Regions from separate parts of the Homo sapiens genome. Here region 2 is linked to region 1. The links are contacts of gene promoters, found by promoter capture Hi-C in human tissues and cell types (Jung and others, 2019). All regions are on one chromosome and are shown on one strand. The core of a region is centred on a gene start or on the middle of the fragment in contact, and the rest is flanking DNA. Distances in the headings are between cores, read along the strand shown.

What was found. The method cuts DNA at HindIII sites, captures the fragments that hold promoters and counts their contacts. A contact is called where the count stands out against the background at its distance.
Region 2: a contact is called between a fragment that was not itself captured here and the fragment with the promoter of POU2F3 in region 1, in 1 of the 25 tissues and cell types used here (liver).

Annotation. Positions count from the first base shown.
Region 1 is chr11:120,238,752-120,241,627 of GRCh38, reverse strand. POU2F3 (POU class 2 homeobox 3) reads right to left here and starts at 1,488. Exons shown (of 13, transcript NM_014352.4): 1 at 1,257-1,488. The coding sequence starts at 1,284. The HindIII fragment of the contact is 19,243 bases long and covers 1-2,876 here.
Region 2 is chr11:120,198,167-120,201,042 of GRCh38, reverse strand. No RefSeq gene overlaps it. Among named protein-coding and RNA genes, the nearest start is that of OAF, 11 kb to the left of the region's middle. The HindIII fragment of the contact is 8,075 bases long and covers 1-2,876 here.

The DNA of each region.
Region 1 (2,876 bases), core at 239-2,738:
GGATCTGCCCCAGGTATGCCCAGTCTAGAAACAGACTTTCCTCAGACTCTGGATGACACCCAGTTGGATGGCTTCTTCCGCCTCACCTAGCCTTTCTGGCACGTCCTGGAGAGCCACTCAGTGCCAACATCTCACTGCCAGTCTGCCTCTCACTCAGCCCTGCCAGGAAACAGCATCTGGGGAACTGGGCACTCCAGGTCCCCTCCCTCCGGGCACTCACTGACGCTTGTTTTCAGGCTGGGTAGGCCTCAGGCCTGCTCTGCTTCTTGGGGTGGGTCTGGAGCATTGCCTCCTCCCTACTCTCCCAGAAAGGAGACCAGGTAACAACATTCCCATCAACAGCCCCGAAATCCTAAAGAAAGATCACTGGGTCCTGCCCACTTTGAGAGTAAGTTGCTAGGTTAGAAATGGCCAGGTCAGGTACCGCTTTCTTCACTTGTTCTTTGCTCAGGCCCTGTGACCTCCAGAAGGCCCACCCTAACAGGAAGCCCCAAGCCAAGCCCAACCTGGCTGCCTGGCAGCTCCTGCCTTAGCCCAGCTGTGGAAGGAGGAACAGCAAGGTGAATGGAGGGGCTGGGTTCCCTCCATGCCCACCTCTCATTCATTCATTCAGGGAAGCCTGACTCCCGGCAAAGCATTTGCATCTCCTAGGTTTCCACCCCTTAGGGAAGGAAGGCATGGGACATGGAACCCAGAGGATGTGTCTGTCACCATCCCTTCTCAAACACATGGGGGCATGGCCCCTGCCCCAGGGGCACCTCTGTAATTGCCCCACCTCAGCCACTTCTCCTAAGCCCCCCAACCACCTAAATGTCCGCTTTGCCTCCATTTCACACATATGCCCGGACACCAGCACACAGCATGTGGACATACACATTTCCCTCACTTATGCACTCCCAGGTCCACACCCCTGGCTGAGTGAGTGAACCACCCATCCCTGCAACCTCCTGAGACTATGACAGTTCAGTACACCCACGTCCCATACAACTGCCACTCCCCAGACCGGGGGCTTCGAAGCCCTCCCGCCCTTCACCAGCCCCCACCCTCATTCTTTTCCAGGGTTTCTTATCCCAGATCCCCTCCCTTTAGTCCCCAAATACTGACCGGCACCCACCCCAGGACAACCCGCTATCCACACCGCCCTCTCCTGGCCGCTGGGAAACAAGCCCCCCTCCCTAACCAGAACGTTGTCCCTCTCCTTCACCCCTGCCCACGCGCAGTGACACCTGTCAGAGCTCATTCCCTCCGCCCCTCACCTGTGTGCATGGACTCCAGATTCACCATCCTGCCCCAGGCGGGGCCAAAGCCAGCGCCCCCCCAGGCCCCTCGCCTCTGCCCCAGCCGGGGCCCCTGCGAAGCCAGGGTCTCCTTCCTCCAGTTCCCGGCCGCCGCCGCCGCGGGAGCCGCTGCCGGAGCCGTCGCCGCCACTGTCGCGCGCTCCGCTGCTCCGGCCCGGGCAACACTCGGCGCCGCCAGGATTGCCACACTCCCCAGGTGAGCACGCGGCGCGGGGCGGGGGCCGCCGGCCACGCCCCCTGGCAGGAGCCCCGCGCCTGGCCCCAGGCCCATGCAAAGCAGTGATTTGCATACATGGAGCTGGGGACCTGGGGAGGGGGCCGGGGGTGCTGCCGGGGCGGGTCTCGATCCCGCGGAACACCTGCCTGCTCCAACCCAGCCTGGCAGCACCTCCTCACCGCGCCCGGAGTGGCGCCAACTCCTGGTCCTGCTCGCCCTTTTTAGGAAGCCCTGGCGGGTTCTCCAGCCTGAGCCCGAGCTTCCTTCTGGACAGATCGCGAAGTGTAAGCGCTGCAAGGAGTTGGAGTGTTTGGAGAAGTCGCGGGGGTCTGCTGGAAAGAATTCAGTTTTGGAATCTCGCCTCCCAACCGCTTACCAGCAGTGTGGCTGGGACAAGGTTCTTCACCTCCCTGAGCTCATTTAACTCACCTGTAAAACAGGACAGGTGCTAATCGGGTTCCCTATTGGGCTGAGCAGGTGACCAAGCTCACCTAGCCCCCATGGCATCCTCACAGCATTGTGGGATTTAGACGGGGTGCAGTTTATTATTAGCAGAGTTTCCAGGTGCACACAACTGCTTCCTGCTTGCCCCTCCAGTCTCCCGCCCCAGGTCCCAGGTTGCTGTGAGGCTCTACGAGATGATGGATGTGGAAGTTACCAGTGCCCAGGCTTTTGGTGACAGCCACCTTCCAGAGCGGGGAAGCGGCTTGCTCAAAGGTGCACACTTCCCTAGTGACAGAGCCTGGCTGGAATCAGGTCTCTGGACTCCCACTCCAGTGCTCTTTGCAGCACCCATCATAGGCTCACCCCTTTCTCTTCGTCTCTTCAAGTCCCAGTAAGTGGTCTGTCACCACAGGATGGCCTGCATGGAAGCCCAGAAAGCTGTGTGCAGACAGGAGGGCAGGGCCTCGCTTTCCTTCCCAGACAGGACTCCTCATGAACATGTCTTCTCCTTAGTCCCATGGGCTACTTTCTGAGCACAGAACAGGTTTTGGGCTTTCCTGCCTCTACACCTTGTTTACAGTGTCCTTTCCCCCTGGCACGCCCATCCCACCGTGCACTCCAGTCATGCCCACGATAACACCCAGCATTTCGTGTGCCTTCACTGTGTATCAAGCACTGGGGTGACCAACACTTGAAAGGCATCTTTCGTGCCTTTAGTTCTTGTTTAGTCCTCAAAACCTGTACATTGTACTATGATTATTGCCATTTTATAGATGGGGAAAATGAGGCTTAGAGAGTTTAAGTTCCGTGTTCTTTTTTTTTTTTTTTTTTTTTTTTTTTTAGACAGAGTCTTGCTCTGTTGCCAGGCTGGAGTGCAGTGGTGCAATCTCGGCTCACTGCAACCTCCACCTCCTGGG
Region 2 (2,876 bases), core at 273-2,772, 41 kb after region 1:
CTATGACACTCTTGGGTCACCTCAGCTCTTCCTGCCACAAGACCCTCAGACCTCTAGCTCCAACCCTGCTGCCCTACCTGCCTCTCAGTGCTCCCCAGAATGGACGAGAAACCCAAGAGCCAAATCCTGGCTTCCTGACCCAGGGATGAAGCCCTAGCAGCCCTTCCTTGGCCCAGGTCCTCTTTCCTGTACCTTTGTTCTGCTCCCTGCTGTTAACAATGATTCACAGATCAAAGGATGTCCCCAGCAGGGATCCTTAACCATGAATTTGCTTCAGGGTCCAGAACTCTTGGAAATTACAATATAAAAAAACCTTGTGTATATATTTGCATTTTTCTGGAAATAGAATTCTCAGGGATTCCTAACCTCTGTGGGTAGATTTGAGGTGGGAGAGGGATTATGTGGGGTTTCTTCTGTGTGGACTAAAATTCTCTTAGAATTGAGATAGCAGTGTACAAGTTCAGTAGAAAAAGTCTGGTCCCAACCACAAAAAGAAGTGAAACAGAGATGAAGAGCCCACCTCTTACCTAGGGGAGAATTCCTGGGGAAAGGCAGATCTTCTGCTCATATTTTGTAGAATCATTCATGGTCTCTTCATGCTCTGCTCACTCACTCATTCATTTCATCAATCAGCATTTATTATATACCTACTGTGTGCCTTGCTTTACACTAAGTCATACTGGCTATACAAACATCAGTTCTTTAAAGTGTGGTCCTGCTTTAAAGCGTGCTTGTTAAAAATACAGGTTCCTGGACCTCAACCATGGAGGGCATTGCCTGGGACTCTGCATTTTAAACAGGCTCCTTCGGCTCATTAAATTAGGTTGACAGCCATTGATAGAGACTGGCATCTCCTCCCAGGCACAGCCTTTGGCATTGGTATGCAGCAAAGTGCCCGCATCATGGTTGCCTCCAAGACTGTTGGTTGGACCAAGATCACGGTTCTGACCCTTCTGCAGGAGAGGTTAGTTCCCTCCCTCCCTCTGCCCTGGCTCCCCCTGCCTCTCTTGAATGCTGGGCCCTGTGAGGGGGGAGGGAGCGGAGGGGTCGCTGGCTGTCCCCTCTACTGCAGCTGTGCTGGGGGCACAGTCTTGGGCAGATTGTGAACCCCAAGAGCAGAGAGGCTGTCCCAGCATGCGCTGCTCCATCCTGACTGGGCGAAGATCTGAGAGTACCAATTAATGTTAACGAGGCTCCCTCTGCCTAGGCCTGTCTTAAGGCTTGGCTAATTAACACTTCTATGGTCCCTTGGGTCCCTAGAATGAGAGGTTTGCGGAGACCTGCAGGAAGTGACTGGTTTCAACCAAAAGGATCTTTCTACCTGTAGTAAGCATCGGGAGGCTGAGACCTGGAATGATAGTGGCTTGGGAACTGGAACCTGGAACAGCAGTAGCTGGTGTTTCTTGATCAACCCGCGTGCTTTACATCCAGCACCCCACTTAATACCCACTTGTGCTCCAGCAGCTAGGATTACTATTTCCCTCCTTTCACAGAGGAGGAAAGTGAGGCCTGGGGTTTGGAGCAAGGTCACACAGCTAGTGTGGCAGAACTAGGGGCACACCCAGGCCATCTGGCTCCAAAGTCTGAGCTCCTGCTCCCGCTCTCTAGAGCCTTCTATGGCCACACAGCCCAGGGTCCCCCTTGTCTTGGCTTCATGCCCAGGCCTGGGCATTTTCTTCTCCATTGGGCCCGCAGAGTTGCTGGCAGCGGGAGACAACCGCAAGCCTGCAGCCCCGGACTCCTTCTTCCCACTGTGCCTTTGGACCTGGTCATGGACTTCCCGTTCCCAGAGAGGATGAGGCAATGGGGAGATGGGGCAGGGCAGGGCGGGGCAGGGACAGACCCTTCCCTTCTCCAGGGTCAGCAGCCTTGGGGAGAACCTACACCCTGTGTCCTCCTAGACAGTGCTGGCCTCCTTCTCTGCTGTGGACTCCTCTTACCTCTGAGGAGGGGATGGAGGTGGGCAGGGCGTGTGTGCAGCTGGCAGGGACATTATAAACACATGGTCAGGATCTTGCCCCCTGGAACCTGTCTCCAGCATGACTGTGGGGCAGCTTTGAGCAAACTTCAGATTTCTAGGAACTGGTGGGCCTCTGGTCATTTCATGGTTATCAGTCAGCCTTTCCCAACTTCTGTCTTGCTTACAGATGGGCAAATGGGTCACGTAGTGAGGACTGTGGAATCAGTCCCAAGTCTGAATTGTGGCTCTGTCACATTCTAGCTGTGTGGCCTTGGACTTAAACCTCTAAGATGTAAAGCTTCAGTTTTTTGTCAGTAAAATGGCTGTAATGATTCCCATCTTGTTGGGTTGTTGTGGGACTTTAGAAAAGTACTATATTCAACGCCCTGGGCTGCCCACCCTACTGCTCTGTCTCCTGGTCAAGGCCAGACATTCTGCTTCGGTTGGACCTGTAGCAGAGCAGCCGGGCAGAGAGAAAAGACCACGTGGCCAGAGGCCTCGGCTGCACAGGAAGAGGCATCTAATAACTGTTGTATAAATGGTAGCTATTTTTCATATGTGCTGGGGCCATTGGCAATACTGCCTCTTATTTATTTATTTTAGAGACAGGGTCTTGCTCTGTTTCCCAGGCTGGAGTGCAGGGGCATGATCATTGCTCACTGTAACCTCACCTCAAAATTCTGGGTGCAGTGATCTTCCCACCCTGGTCTCCCAAAACGTTGAAATTATAGGCATGAGCCACCACATCCAGCCAAGCCTCGTATTTCTTAACTAGAGACAATGGAGGCTGATTTGGGCTGACGCGTTGAGACCCCAGTGAGAGGGCACTGAAATCCAGGCAGGATTCAGGGTATCTGTGGCATTCCTGCGGGGAGTTCTGTTTGCCCAATTCCCTCCCCTCCCCCATCCCCTCCCC